Linked DNA regions of Homo sapiens: region 2 is linked to region 1. The links are contacts of gene promoters, found by promoter capture Hi-C in human tissues and cell types (Jung and others, 2019). All regions are on one chromosome and are shown on one strand. The core of a region is centred on a gene start or on the middle of the fragment in contact, and the rest is flanking DNA. Distances in the headings are between cores, read along the strand shown. Region 1 holds the start of ADAM8 (ADAM metallopeptidase domain 8). Region 2 has its middle 23 kb from the start of KNDC1.

Evidence for each region. Contacts are between HindIII fragments. The study calls those that stand out against the background at their distance.
Region 2: a fragment that was not itself captured here is called in contact with the fragment with the promoter of ADAM8 in region 1 in 1 of the 25 tissues and cell types used here (H1 embryonic stem cells).

Annotation. Positions count from the first base shown.
Region 1 is chr10:133,274,402-133,281,309 of GRCh38, reverse strand. It overlaps ADAM8 (ADAM metallopeptidase domain 8), which reads left to right and starts at 4,442. Exons shown (of 23, transcript NM_001109.5): 1 at 4,442-4,538; 2 at 5,723-5,826. The coding sequence starts at 4,493. TUBGCP2 (tubulin gamma complex component 2) reads left to right here. Exons shown (of 18, transcript NM_006659.4): 17 at 1-37; 18 at 1,409-2,675. The coding sequence ends at 1,544. RefSeq lists enhancers at 2,418-2,497, 2,988-3,037, 4,352-4,999, 6,003-6,262, 6,300-6,908 and a silencer at 4,193-4,752. The HindIII fragment of the contact is 31,119 bases long and covers 1-6,908 here.
Region 2 is chr10:133,133,649-133,140,556 of GRCh38, reverse strand. No RefSeq gene overlaps it. Among named protein-coding and RNA genes, the nearest start is that of KNDC1, 23 kb to the left of the region's middle. RefSeq lists an enhancer at 1-264. The HindIII fragment of the contact is 9,815 bases long and covers 1-6,157 here.

The DNA of each region.
Region 1 (6,908 bases), core at 3,193-5,692:
GTGACTGTGAGCACGGCATGGCCAGCGTCATCTCCAGGTGGGTGGGCGCCACCCCGGCTCAGCCCTTCCTCAGCTCAGTCCAGCGCCTGCCCCTGCCCAGCACCGCCCTGGCTCAGCCCTTCCTCAGCTCAGTCCAGCACCTGCCCCTGCCCAACACCGCCCTGGCCCAGTGCTGTCCCTGCTCAGCCGTCCCCCAGCTCAGCCCAGCACCTGCCCCTGCCCAGCACTGCCCTGGCCCAGTGCTGCCCCGGCTCAGCCTTCCCCCAGCTCAGCCCAGCACCTGCCCCTGCCCAGCACCGCCCTGGCTCAGCCCTTCCTCAGCTCAGTCCAGCACCTGCCCCTGCCCAACACCGCCCTGGCCCAGTGCTGTCCCGGCTCAGCCTTCCCCCAGCTCAGCCCAGCGCCTGCCCCTGCCCAGCACCGCCCTGGCCCAGTGCTGCCCCGGCTCAGCCTTCCCCCAGCTCAGCCCAGCGCCTGCCCCGGCTCAGCCCTTCCTCAGCTCAGCCCAGCATCTGCCCCAGCCCAGCGCCACCCCAGCTCAGCACCTGTCCCTGCATCCAGGCCCCATCTCCCCTGCACCCTCCCCTGGTCCACCTGGTGTAGCCTCCTTCAGAAGGTGGGGCAGGTCTGTGTCCTGGTGCTAGTGCTGGTCATATGCCACTCCCTGAAGTCAGGCTAGCCCAGCTCTCCCTGGGGTGTGACATTCTGTGCAACTGGGCTGCCCCATTGGCACCCTGCGGCTGTGTGTGTCCTGTGGGGCTGATCAGGCCTGGGTCAGCTTCCCTCATGCTGCACTAACACCTAGCCTGGGGGAAAGGGCCAGGTGGCCAAACTGCCAGCCTGGAAGGGGTGGTGCCCTTGGGGGTGCTGTCCTTGGGAAGGTGCCTATTTGTGCTTTTGGACCACCCTGTGCCCTGTGCCCCCCACAAATGTTCTGATTTTCTGAGCAGGGATTTCTGAGGCCACCCTGCATTGAGAACCACTGCTTGGTTCTCCAAGCCCCTGACACCTCAGGCCCCATTGCTAGGCCCTGTTGGGGTGATGGGAGCCCCAACTTTCTGGGGCCAGGAGAGAAGAAACCTGTGTTTGTGCCTTTGAGCAGGACTGAACAGGACTGAAAACCTTCCTGTGGAAACATTAGTTAGGAGCGTGCCTCACCCTCACCCCTGCAGGGCCTCTTATGGTCTCTGTAGCTGAACACTTCCCCATGGTAGGAGCAGGGCTGCTCAGGACGGACCCGCAGAAGGAGTGTGTGCCCCAGCTCCACTGTCCTTCCTCACCCCTGCTGCCCAGCACGCACCCGCAGAAGGGGTGTGCACCCTAGCTGCACCGTCCTTCCACACCCCTGCTGCCCAGCATGCACCCGCAGAAGGGGTGTGCACCCCAGCTCCACTGTCCTTCCTCACAGGCTTGACTTCAATGGTTTCTACACGGAGCGCCTGGAGCGCCTGTCTGCAGAGAGGAGCCAGAAGGCCACCCCCCAAGTGCCTGTCCTGCGGGGGCCCCCGGCTCCTGCACCCAGGGTCGCAGTCACCGCACAGTGAGCCCTGGCTGTGACAGGAAGGAAGGGTGTGGGGTCAGCAGGGACTGGTGCAAATGGGTCCAGAATTTTCAAATCGAATGCTCTGTGTTCTGTCTTTGCAGTTTAAATATAAAGCAGGAATGATTGACTCAGCTCACTTTGTTTCTCAAGGCGCTGGGTTTCGTTTTATAGAAGCTGCCCAGGCAGGGTGGATGTCTCCCTGGATTTGCTAATCTGTTTGCTTTTTGAAATTACACTATCACCTTTTTGGGTGTTTTTGGCCTCAAAGTGGAAATACATGGTGTTTAAGCCAGGAGCAAGCAAAGATGCATGTGGGGTAAGATCCAGGCCTGGTGTCCACATCTTTCCGGGTGAGCTGGGGCCGGGCTTCCTGAGGTCTGTCGGAACCGGGACAAGCCTCTGGAAACGGTCAGGGAGTTGTGGAAACCCACCGGGCATCGGGTGTCGGGTTTGCTTTGGCCCCAGAGGCAGCCCCGTTCCTTCTCCTGAGGACTCACCCGCCTCCACGACCCTCCTCCTGCTGCTGCTCCAACTGGTCCAGGGCAGGAGGCCACAGACAGGGCCCTCAGGCACCCTGGGAGCCCACACCTCCCCCTCCGTGGGAGTGGGTCGAGGGGCAGGCTCTGCTGCTGGCTGGAAACCCCACCCCGCCCTATCCGGTACCGCCTTGTTACGTAGAACTTACTCAGCAGACTGACACCCAATCCCCCTCGGGCGATCATCTGCCCTGTCTTCCCACCTCCAGGGCTACAGTGGGCAGCACCGCCATCCCCAGTGTGACAGGGCCCTGGGAGCCTCAGGGCTGCCCGGCCAGGTTGGTCTGCTCTGGTTACATTCTGGCCAAGCTGCCCCTTCCTGCTGACCTGCATGTGTATTGTTGTCACCTTCAGCTCTCAGCACCTCGGCCCCCTTGGGCAGTGAGGAAGGGCCCTGGAGGCGAGGTTGGGAGAAAGGATAGCTAGAACAGGATCCTGCGGGGAACAAGGGTTGTGGGCAGCTCTCACCCGGGGCTGCCTCACTGAGAGCACCGCCGAGTGGGGGTGGGGGTGTCCAACTCTCCAGCCACAAACCGCTTCCTCCTTGTCTGCAGGCTGTGCAGGTCTGGCCTGTGAGTAAACACATTTATCAGCAACCCAAGCTGTCAGTCTCAGTGTTGTGCAAATGCCGGACTGGTGAGCAGAGGAGCCTGCTAGCTTTCCTGCCTGGCCCCGAGGCCCAGAAACCCCTGATCTTGTGTCCTGGGGTCTGGGAAGCCCTGGGCCTTGAGAAGTGGGGTTTGCAGGTGGTGATAGGAGGAGGGGAGGGAAGCCTCCAGGGCTGTGGGGTTCAGGCTCCCAGACCCCCCGGCACCTGCTGAAGAGGAGAGCTGTGTTCTGTGGGATTGGGTGGAACTTCCTCAGCGCGGGAGGAGCCTGTTCTGGCCCAAGCTGGTCCTGTCTTTTTAGGAATAAATCCCTGGTAGCTCAGCGTCGGCAGGGGCCTTGCTGTGCCTCTGATGTGGCCAGCGTGCCGCCTTTGCACTTTGCTGTTGAGTAACTTGCACCATGAGGTCAAGGAAGGGAAGTGTGATTGCCAGCTGGCCATTGTTCTATAATAACAGGGTCACCTGCATGAGCTCAGGCACAGGCCAGTATCCCCAGCCCTACCTGGGAGCCTCTCGGCAGCCTGGGGGACCTCGTCCTGTGCCACACAGGCAAGCGGACACACCCCCAGGCAGCAGAAGTCACCTGCGGCCCAGTGCCAGCCCTTGCTTTCTTGCTTTTCATGCCATTCACATTAGGGTAAGAATGGCTTTGAGACAAAATGTGACAGCATCACTCACGCCAGCTTAGATCCTCCGGGTTCCCTGTCCTCCCAGGATAACGTCCGAGGCCCCGGCCTCTTCTTGCCACTGCCCCTTGACCTCTGTCCTCTGCCCCTAGGCCCGTGCAGTTCCCTGACTCGCCCTGCCCTGGTGCCCTCTCTCCAGGCAGGACTCCCTCCAGCCCCTTGCTGGCCCTGCCCTGCCTCTCCCCAGGGAGGCCCTGAGGCCCCCCCCCCCCATGTGATCTGTCAGCAGCGCCCTGTGTGGTCATCTGAGCTGCCTTTCCTGCCACCACCACTGTTCCCACTCCAGGAGGGCGGCCTGGCTGTGAAAGCCCCAGGGAGGGGTCCTGGGTGGACCGTCTGGGGAGCTGTGGTGTCAGCCCAAACCTGCACCCTCGAGGCTGAGCCCACCACGGGGAATGTGGTCACCAAGGGCAAGCACGCTTGGCCGCAGGCCTGGAGACGCCGGAGCCAGGCCACGGTGGGCTGCTGCAGGCTTTGGTCCACGTCGGCCAGCGTCAGCTGCTGTCTGGGGATCTTAGGCTAGGGACGGCCCCTGCACCTGCCATCACCTGGGCTGGGACCCCCACCTAGGGCTCCCCCTCCCCACTTGGACGCCTGCGGGCCCATGCCTATCCCACTCCGGTGAGGCCTCAGCCTGGTGGAGGGGGCGCAGGCTTGGGGGGGAGGGTGGCAGAGCTTCCCACAGGGCTGAACCTATGCCCACAAAGCCATGACTTGCCCCTGCCTGAGGCTTTCTGTTCCCCAGGAAATCAGAGACCCCCTCTCCTGAAACCGCCAGGCGGCCCTCACAAGTCCCTTCCCCTCCAGGACCTGCCTGGCGCCACCTCCTTCCAGCCGCCGGGTCCTTCGAGAGGCCCCCTCTCGGGGCTCTGGCCGGACTTGGGACAGGCTGTGCCTGAGTTTCCTCACCTGTGCAAGGGAGGATGCTGGATTGTGGGGAGAGGGGAAACGGACCCCGCCCCCAGGTGCCGCGCGCCCCGCCCCTCCCACCGGCCGAGGGGCCCATTGGCTGCGGGGCGCCGGGGCGGGGCGCGCGGAAAAGAGCCTCGGGCCAGGAGCGCAGGAACCAGACCGTGTCCCGCGGGGCTGTCACCTCCGCCTCTGCTCCCCGACCCGGCCATGCGCGGCCTCGGGCTCTGGCTGCTGGGCGCGATGATGCTGCCTGGTGAGTGGTTCCAGGGAACCGTCCCGGGCGCAGCGCGGGGCAGGGTGGCTCTCCCCGCAGGACGCGACGCGGACCCCGAGCCCCTGGCCTGCTCGCACCCCGCACCCTGGCCCGGCTTCGGGCTGGTCCCTGGGAGCGGGCCATCAGGTGCACAGTGGTCTCTGGGTGGAGAGCCCCGGGCCGGGGAGGCCGGGGAGGTCGGAGGGAACCTTCAAAGGTGAACTGTGAGAGGGAAGTCCCGCCTCTGAGCTTGTTAGTGGGGTCGGGGCCGGGCCAAGCAGGACGCTTCACCTGCTGCGCGAGGCGCCCTGGGTTCCTGGGATTCACCTGTGGGGCTACCCACCCCCACTATTTAGCCGAGGAGGGAAGGGAGGGCAGACAAGCTGAGGCCTGGAGTGCAGGGGTGTGGGCTGAGGGGACCCGTCTCCTGCCTGGGGGAGGACATGGGGCTGCTGACCCTGGATCCCACCCCTGCTCCTGGAGTGACTTGGGCTGGGGTGTGCTGAGGAGCTTCAGGCTGGAGGCCGGGTTGCTTCCCGCCAGTTTCCTGGGCAGATAGGGGCTGGCTGCTCCCCTGCTGCCTCTCCAGGTTGGAGATGTGGTCATGGAGACACGTCCACTATTGTGTTTTAATGGGAGCAAAGGGTCCTGGGGTTGGTGGTCTCCGAAACCCTGCCCATTGCATGCTGGGACCCTGCCCTCTGCTCTCGGATACCAGGGAGTTTCCAGTTCTTGGGAGGTGAACAGCCTCCGGGAGGCACTTCCTGCTCCCCAGTTAGATGCGATCAGATGATCAGAAGAATGGAGGAGGAGAATGGAAACGGGCAGGTCGGCGGCCCGAGTCCTCCTCCCTGGGGGGAAGGTTCATCCTTGCCCTCGGGCCCCTCCAGAGATCTGAGACAGCCTGGAGACCTGTGGAGTCACTGGCACCCGCTGGCACCCACAGCGTCTCTGAGCACTGTGTGTGGGTGCTGCAGGACACAGGCCCACCGGCCATGCCTGGGGGCGCTCCTGGGGTCTTTTAGGCACAGAACCCTCACTTGAGTCTTTGTCCCAGAGCTATCTGGTGAGTTCCCCAGGGGAGGGTCAAGCCCAGCAAGAGACAGAATCTGAGGGCCCAGGAGGCCTCTGGGAAGGAAACCTGCCCCCCGGCCCCTCATGCCTGCTGACCCTCCCTCCTGCAGCGATTGCCCCCAGCCGGCCCTGGGCCCTCATGGAGCAGTATGAGGTCGTGTTGCCGTGGCGTCTGCCAGGCCCCCGAGTCCGCCGAGCTCTGCCCTCCCACTTGGTGAGTCTAAGCTGGCCTGGGGAGGGTCCCTGGCTGGCCCCTGAGCCTATTTTTGTGAAAGGAGCTTTAGCTTACAGAAAGTGGTGAGAGGCCAGTGGGTGTCTGGGGCTGCCCTGTACAGCTCTAGCCCCCTGGGGCCCATCTCCGTTCCTCCCTCCAGCACTGCCTGAGGGCTCCCAGCCTCCTCGTTCCTTCAGGAGCTCTATGGACCCCTGGAAGGGAGCAGGGGCAGGTTGTGCTGGCCCCGGGCCCCTCCCCAGTTTCACTTGGCGAGGCTGATAAGCCAAATTCCTCTTTGAGAAGTGACGCTGGCTCACCGCAGAGTTGACACACCTTCCTGTGTTGGGGGGGGGGCCTGGCGGGGGTTTCCCAGGGCTAGAAACTGAGAATGCCCCCCTCCCCGACTGGGGCTGCCCGAGGGTGATTCCTGAAGCCTGAGTGGGTGGGTGTGCACACATGTGCACGGCATATGCATGTGTGCACCTGTTTCCAGGGAGGGCAGTTCCGGCCCCAGCCCTGTCCTTACCTCAGCATCCGGGGAACCTACTACCGACCTGCCCGCTGCCCTGGGCTCATCCAGCCGGTGGCACAGCTAAGGCTGTCCCAGAGCTCTGCAGGCCGAGCCCCAGCCTGCACATGGGGGCTGGAGATGCAGTGGTCCAGCAGGAGGCTCTGCAGGCACCACCAGGTCCGGCAGCTGCTGGAAGGGATGGGTCCTGGAGGCAGGCAGCTGTCGCTGGAGGGGCCTGTGCGTGCTATCCCCGCCACCCACCTCCTTTGCTGCCTGGCTGAGGCTATGCCTCCCCCACCCTATGCTTTCTCGGGGAAGGGGCATTGTCGTTACCCATGCGTGGTCAGATGGGGAAACTGAGGCCTGGGAGGACCGAGGAGCACCGTGTCCTTCCTGTCTACCCAAGTGCTGGGCTCCGCCGGTCGCCTTCAGCACAGCCCCGTTCCCTACCCTCCACCCTCCACCCCCCGCCCCCCACCCTCTGCCCTCCGCCCCCCGCCTCCACCCTCCACCCTCCACTCTCCACCCTCCACCTTCCACCCCCCACCCCCTGCCCCCTACCCTCCACCCT
Region 2 (6,908 bases), core at 1-2,500, 140 kb after region 1:
CCAGCTTGGCCCTCTCTCCCCCGGTTTGCCTGTGGGCCGGGGGTCCTGTGAAGGAGTGTGAGGGGGCACGGGCTCACAGCCCTGGAGGGTCAGAGGCGTCAGGGACGTGCTGGAGCCGCATCTCACTCTGGAGACCAGGCCGGATGGAGAAGTGGATGTAGGCCAGGGTGGCGGGGCAGGGGCAGGGCAGGGGCGGGGCAGTGAAGGGGCAGGGCAGGGGCAGGGGCAGCACAGGGACAGCACAGGGGCAGCGCAGGGGCAGGGCAGGGGCAGGGCAGGGGCGGGGCAGGGGCGGGGCAGGGGCGGGGCAGTGAAGGGGCAGGGCAGGGGCAGGGGCAGCACAGGGACAGCACAGGGGCAGCGCAGGGGCAGGGCAGGGCAGGGGCAGGGGCAAGACAGGGGCAGCACGGGGCAGGGGCAGGGGCAGGGCAGGGGCAGTGAAGGGGCAGGGCAGGGACGACCCACTCAGGGCTCCGGAGGTCGGTGTCCAGACTGCGAGTCCAGCCTCAGGGTCCAGCGGGAATTTAGCTGTGCAAGTTCCCTTCCCAGGCGCCGGGACCTGCCCCCGGGGTCACCTTTGAAGAAGGAGGAGAAATTCCCTGCAGCCCTGACTCCCCAGAGTGCCCTGGGGGAGGACTGCGGAGCTGAGGCAGCTTGAGAAGGAGGCAGGTGGGCCCCGCAGAAGGCCCAGAGCAGCTCAAGATGCAGGGGCAGCTGCCCGTGGGTGGGGCTGTGTCCCAACCTGGGCGGCGCTTCCTCACATCCTCGGAAGGCACCGCCTGGAGCCGAGGCCCCGCTGTGGCTTCCCAGCTGCCTGCTGAGGTTTGCTGCCGCCTCTTCCTTCCTCCCCAGTTGACCAATGAGCCCACCTTGGTCCAAAGAGCAAGTCAGGGTGAGAATCCCACCACTGACTGACTATCCTGCTGCCCCCGACAGAGCCCTGGAGACCAGCCGCCCCCACAGGGACCCAGAGACCAGACTCCCCCACAGGGACCCAGAGACCAGACCCCCCCACAGGGACCCAGAGACCACCCACCCCCACAGGGACCCAGAGACCAGACCCGCCCACAGGGACCCAGAGACCAGGCCCCCCCACAGGGACCCAGAGACCAGACCCCCCCACAGGGACCCAGAGACCAGACCCCCCAACAGGGACCCAGAGACCAGCCACCCCCACACAGGGGCCCAGAGACCAGACCCCCCCACAGGGACCCAGAGACCAGCCACCCGCACACAGGGACCCAGAGACCAGACCCCCCCCACAGGGACCCAGAGACCAGACCCCCCAACAGGGACCCAGAGACCCCCCCAACCACAGGGACCCAGAGACCAGACACCCCCACAGGGACCCAGAGACCAGCCGCCCCAACAGGGACCCAGAGACCAGACCCCCCAACAGGGACCCAGAGACCCCCCCCGCCACAGGTACCCAGAGACCAGAGCCCCCAACAGGGACCCAGAGATGAGCCGCCCCCACAGGGACCCAGAGACCAGACCCCCCCACAGGGACCCAGGGACCAGACCCCCCCACAGGGACCCAGAGACCAGCCACCTCACAGGGACCCAGAGACCAGAACCCCCCACAGGGACCCAGAGACCAGAACCCCCCACAGGGACCCAGAGACCAGCCGCCCCCACAGGGACCCAGAGACCAGGACCCCCCCACAGGGACCCAGAGACCAGCTGCCCCCACAGGGACCCAGAGACCAGAAACCCCCACAGGGACCCAGAGACCAGCTGCCCCCACAGGGACCCAGAGACCAGAACCCCCCCACAGGGACCCAGAGACCAGACCCACCACAGGGACCCAGAGACCAGCCGCCCCCACAGGGACCCAGAGACCAGACCCCCCAACAGGGACCCAGAGACCCCCCCCACCACAGGGACCCAGAGACCAGCCGCCCCCACAGGGACCCAGAGACCAGACCCCCCAACAGGGACCCAGAGACCCCCCCCCCACCACAGGGACCCAGAGACCAGACACCCCCACAGGGACCCAGAGACCAGACCCCCCCAACAGGGACCCAGAGACCAGACCCGCCCACAGGGACCCAGAGACCAGACCCGCCCACAGGGACCCAGAGACCAGGCCCCCCCACAGGGACCCAGAGACCAGACCCCCCCACAGGGACCCAGAGACCAGCCGCCCCCACAGGGACCCAGAGACCAGACCCCCCCCACAGGGACCCAGAGACCAGACCCGCCCACAGGGACCCAGAGACCAGCCGCCCCCACAGGGACCCAGAGACCAGCCACCCCCACACGGACCCAGAGACCAGACCCCCCCACAGGGACCCAGAGACCAGCCGCCCCCACAGGGACCCAGAGACCAGACCCCCCCCACAGGGACCCAGAGACCAGCCGCCCCCACAGGGACCCAGAGACCAGCCGCCCCCACAGGGACCCAGAGACCAGCCGCCCCCACAGGGACCCAGAGACCAGCCACCCCCACACAGGGACCCAGAGACCAGACCCGCCCACAGGGACCCAGAGACCAGCCACCCCCACACAGGGATGCAGAGACCAGACCCGCCCACAGGGACCCAGGGACCAGAACCCCCCACAGGGACCCAGAGACCAGCCGCCCCCACAGGGACCCAGAGACCAGCCGCCCCCACAGGGACCCAGGGACCAGAACCCCCACAGGGACCCAGAGACCAGCCGCCCCCACAGGGACCCAGGGACCAGAACCCCCACAGGGACCCAGAGACCAGCCGCCCCCACAGGGACCCAGAGACCAGAACCCCCAACAGGGACCCAGAGACCAGACCCGCCTACAGGGACCCAGGGACCAGAACCCCTACAGGGACCCAGAGACAAGACCCCCCAACAGGGACCCAGAGACCAGCCGCCCCTACAGGGACCCAGAGACCAGACCCCCCCACAGGGACCCAGAGATCAGCCGCCCCCACAGGGACCCAGAGACCAGAACCCCTCACAGGGACCCAGAGACCAGCCGCCCCCACAGGGACCCAGAGACCAGGACCCCCCCACAGGGACCCAGAGACCAGACCCGCCCACAGGGACCCAGAGACCAGAACCCCTACAGGGACCCAGAGACCAGACCCCCCAACAGGGACCCAGAGACCCCCCCACCACAGGGACCCAGAGACCAGACACCCCCACAGGTACCCAGAGACCAGACCCCCCAACAGGGACCCAGAGACCAGACCCGCCCACAGGGACCCAGAGACCAGAACCCCTACAGGGACCCAGAGACCAGCCGCCTCCACAGGGACCCAGAGACCAGACCCCCCCACAGAGACCCAGAGACAAGCCGCCCCCACAGGGACCCAGAGACCAGAACCCCCCCACAGGGACCCAGAGACCAGCTGCCCCCACAGGTACCCAGAGACCAGACCCCCCCACAGGGACCCAGAGACCCCCCCCACCACAGGGACCCAGAGACCAGATCCCCCCACAGGGACCCAGAGACCAGACCCCCCCACAGGGACCCAGAGACCAGAACCTCTCACAGGGACCCAGAGACCAGTTGCCCCCACAGGGACCCAGAGACCAGAACCCCCCCACAGGGACCCAGAGACCAGACCCCCCAACAGGGACCCAGAGACCAGACCCGCCCACAGGGACCCAGAGACCAGCCGCCTCCACAGGGACCCAGAGACCAGACCCGCCCACAGGGACCCAGAGACCAGACCCCCCCACAGAGACCCAGAGACCAGCCGCCCCCACAGGGACCCAGAGACCAGAACCCCCCACAGGGACCCAGAGACCAGCCGCCCCCCCAGGGACCCAGAGACCAGAACCCCCACAGAGACCCAGAGACCAGACCCCCCAACAGGGACCCAGAGACCAGACCCCCCCACAGGGACCCAGAGATCAGCCGCCCCCACAGGGACCCAGAGACCAGAACCCCCCACAGGGACCCAGAGACCAGCCGCCCCCACAGGGACCCAGAGACCAGGACCCCCCCAAAGGGACCCAGAGACCAGACCCGCCCACAGGGACCCAGAGACCAGAACCCCTACAGGGACCCAGAGACCAGACCCCCCAACAGGGACCCAGAGACCCCCCCCACCACAGGGACCCAGAGACCAGACACCCCCACAGGGACCCAGAGACCAGAACCCCCCCACAGGGACCCAGAGACCAGACCCGCCTACAGGGACCCAGCGACCAGAACCCCTACAGGGACCCAGAGACCAGACCCCCCAACAGGGACCCAGAGACCCCCCCCACCACAGGGACCCAGAGACCAGACACCCCCACAGGGACCCAGAGACCAGCCGCCCCCACAGGGACCCAGAGACCCCCCCCCACCACAGGGACCCAGAGACCAGACCCCCCCCACAGGGACCCAGAGACCAGACCCCCCCAACAGACCCAGAGACCAGACCCGCCCACAGGGACCCAGAGACCAGAACCCCTACAGGGACCCAGAGACCAGCCGCCTCCACAGGGACCCAGAGACCAGACCCCCCCACAGAGACCCAGAGACAAGCCGCCCCCACAGGGACCCAGAGACCAGAACCCCCCCACAGGGACCCAGAGACCAGCTGCCCCCACAGGTACCCAGAGACCAGACCCCCCCACAGGGACCCAGAGACCCCCCCCACCACAGGGACCCAGAGACCAGACCCCCCCACAGGGACCCAGAGACCAGAAACCCCCACAGGGACCCAGAGACCAGCTGCCCCCACAGGGACCCAGAGACCAGAACCCCCCCACAGGGACCCAGAGACCAGACCCACCACAGGGACCCAGAGACCAGCCGCCCCCACAGGGACCCAGAGACCAGACCCCCCAACAGGGACCCAGAGACCCCCCCCACCACAGGGACCCAGAGACCAGCCGCCCCCACAGGGACCCAGAGACCAGACCCCCCAACAGGGACCCAGAGACCCCCCCCCCACCACAGGGACCCAGAGACCAGAACCCCCCCACAGGGACCCAGAGACCAGACCCGCCTACAGGGACCCAGCGACCAGAACCCCTACAGGGACCCAGAGACCAGACCCCCCAACAGGGACCCAGAGACCCCCCCCACCACAGGGACCCAGAGACCAGACACCCCCACAGGGACCCAGAGACCAGCCGCCCCCACAGGGACCCAGAGACCCCCCCCCACCACAGGGACCCAGAGACCAGACCCCCCCCACAGGGACCCAGAGACCAGACCCCCCCAACAGGGACCTGGAGACCAGCTCCCCTATGGTACCAGCCCAGGCTGTCTCACACCCAGGGACCCAGTGGCCCCGAATGAAGTCTGCCGTGTTTTAACAAGCATCATTGAACCATGTTTCCTTTAACACTGCTCACCTGCAGGCCATCGGCCCCACCCCACCGAGGCACTGAAGCCACAGGTGCTGCAGTGGATTCTTTACCCTGGCAGCTCAGCCCACGCCAGCGTCCCGCACTCCCTTGGAGGCAGAGACCCCGGAACTCATTTTAAACAGTGTTTACCAGGAGACACAGACCACAGATACACAGCCCACGTGACACAGGACCTAGTACTCAATTGAGACGACTCAGACCACGAGAACTCAGCCTCCCAAACACACAGAAGAACACACGGGCGCAGCTCCAGCCCACCACATGCAAACGCACCACCACCGCCGCCACCTGGGCACACGGAGGGTGAAATTTCAGCCCATACCAGTGGCACCAAGAAAGTAGCCCAGAAAATGTGTCCTCATCCTACAGCAGCACAGACTGCTACTGTCACCTCGAGTATTTTACCCAGCAACACAGCTCACTATGAATCCAATACGAGCATTAACCCTAACAGGGAGGCACTACGTGCCAGAGTTCCTCACTCCACGAAGACGTGGGCCACGAGTACTCTCCGAACCAGGGCAGAGACATGGGTACTAACCCAGGCTATCCCTCACCAGGGTACTCACTCCACTAGGACCTAGACCAAGGGTACTTTCTGGACCATGACAGAGACATGAGTACTAAACCAGCCAATCCCACACCAGGGGTATTCACCCCTCTAGGACCTGGACTTGGAGTAATCTCTGAGCCAGGGCGCAGACATGGGTACTCACCTGCTTTGTCCCTGGCCGATGTCAGCCCTGCACCACTCTGTGGCTTGTTCAGTGACCCTGTCTGGGAGAGGCTGGGGGGCGGCTGGCAGGGAGGGACTTGAGCTCTGGGTGCCTCTGCTGCCGGTTCTGACCTGCAGGCCTCCCTGAAGGGCTATGTTGGGTGTGGTTGGAGTTGTGAGTAGGGAGCAAGGTGTCTGTTGCGATTACAGGGGAAGTTGTTGATATTTATGTAGAAAAGAAGTAATTAGAGTGAGTTTAAGAGTGTCCTCTTAACAGTGGTTTTCCCAGTACCCACGTCCTGGGATGGGAGTGGGAAGGAAAGGCAGGCCCTGGCAACCCCAGTCATTTCCTGGGACACAGGACAGAGGTGTGAGGTCCAAGTCGGCGCCCACTTGGGCCTGAGCGGTGCTGCTTGTCCTCTGGAAGTCGGCCGCCTGCAGATCTGTGGCCGGGGGGATGCAGCCTGGGGTCTGGGGTCCTGAGTCCTTGCAGGACCGTCTGTGGGCAGCCACGTCTGTGCTCAGGCACTGGCCCTGCAGCCCCCAGGAGGCCTGGACAGCCAGTGTTGGGAGTTGCCCTGGTGGGCCCCAGCTCACCCAGCAGCCCTCCCTCCAGGCCCAGAGGAGCCAGCACGGCGGGCATGAAGGGCTTGTCTTGCTGCTGAGCCCACTTGCAGCCTGACCTGTCTCACTGGGAGACACTGATCTTCTAGCTGTGGCCCGAGGGACAGGCCTCTCACGTGTGCCAGGCCCTCCTATGCCCCTCCTGCTCCGCCTGCCCTGAACAACCACAGCACTCAGATGCCTGCTCAGACTTGGCCCCAGGGACCCTCCGAATTGGCTTCTCTGTCCCTGTGCCCAGTAGCCTCCCCAGATGCCCACCAGGCCCCGCCTCCAC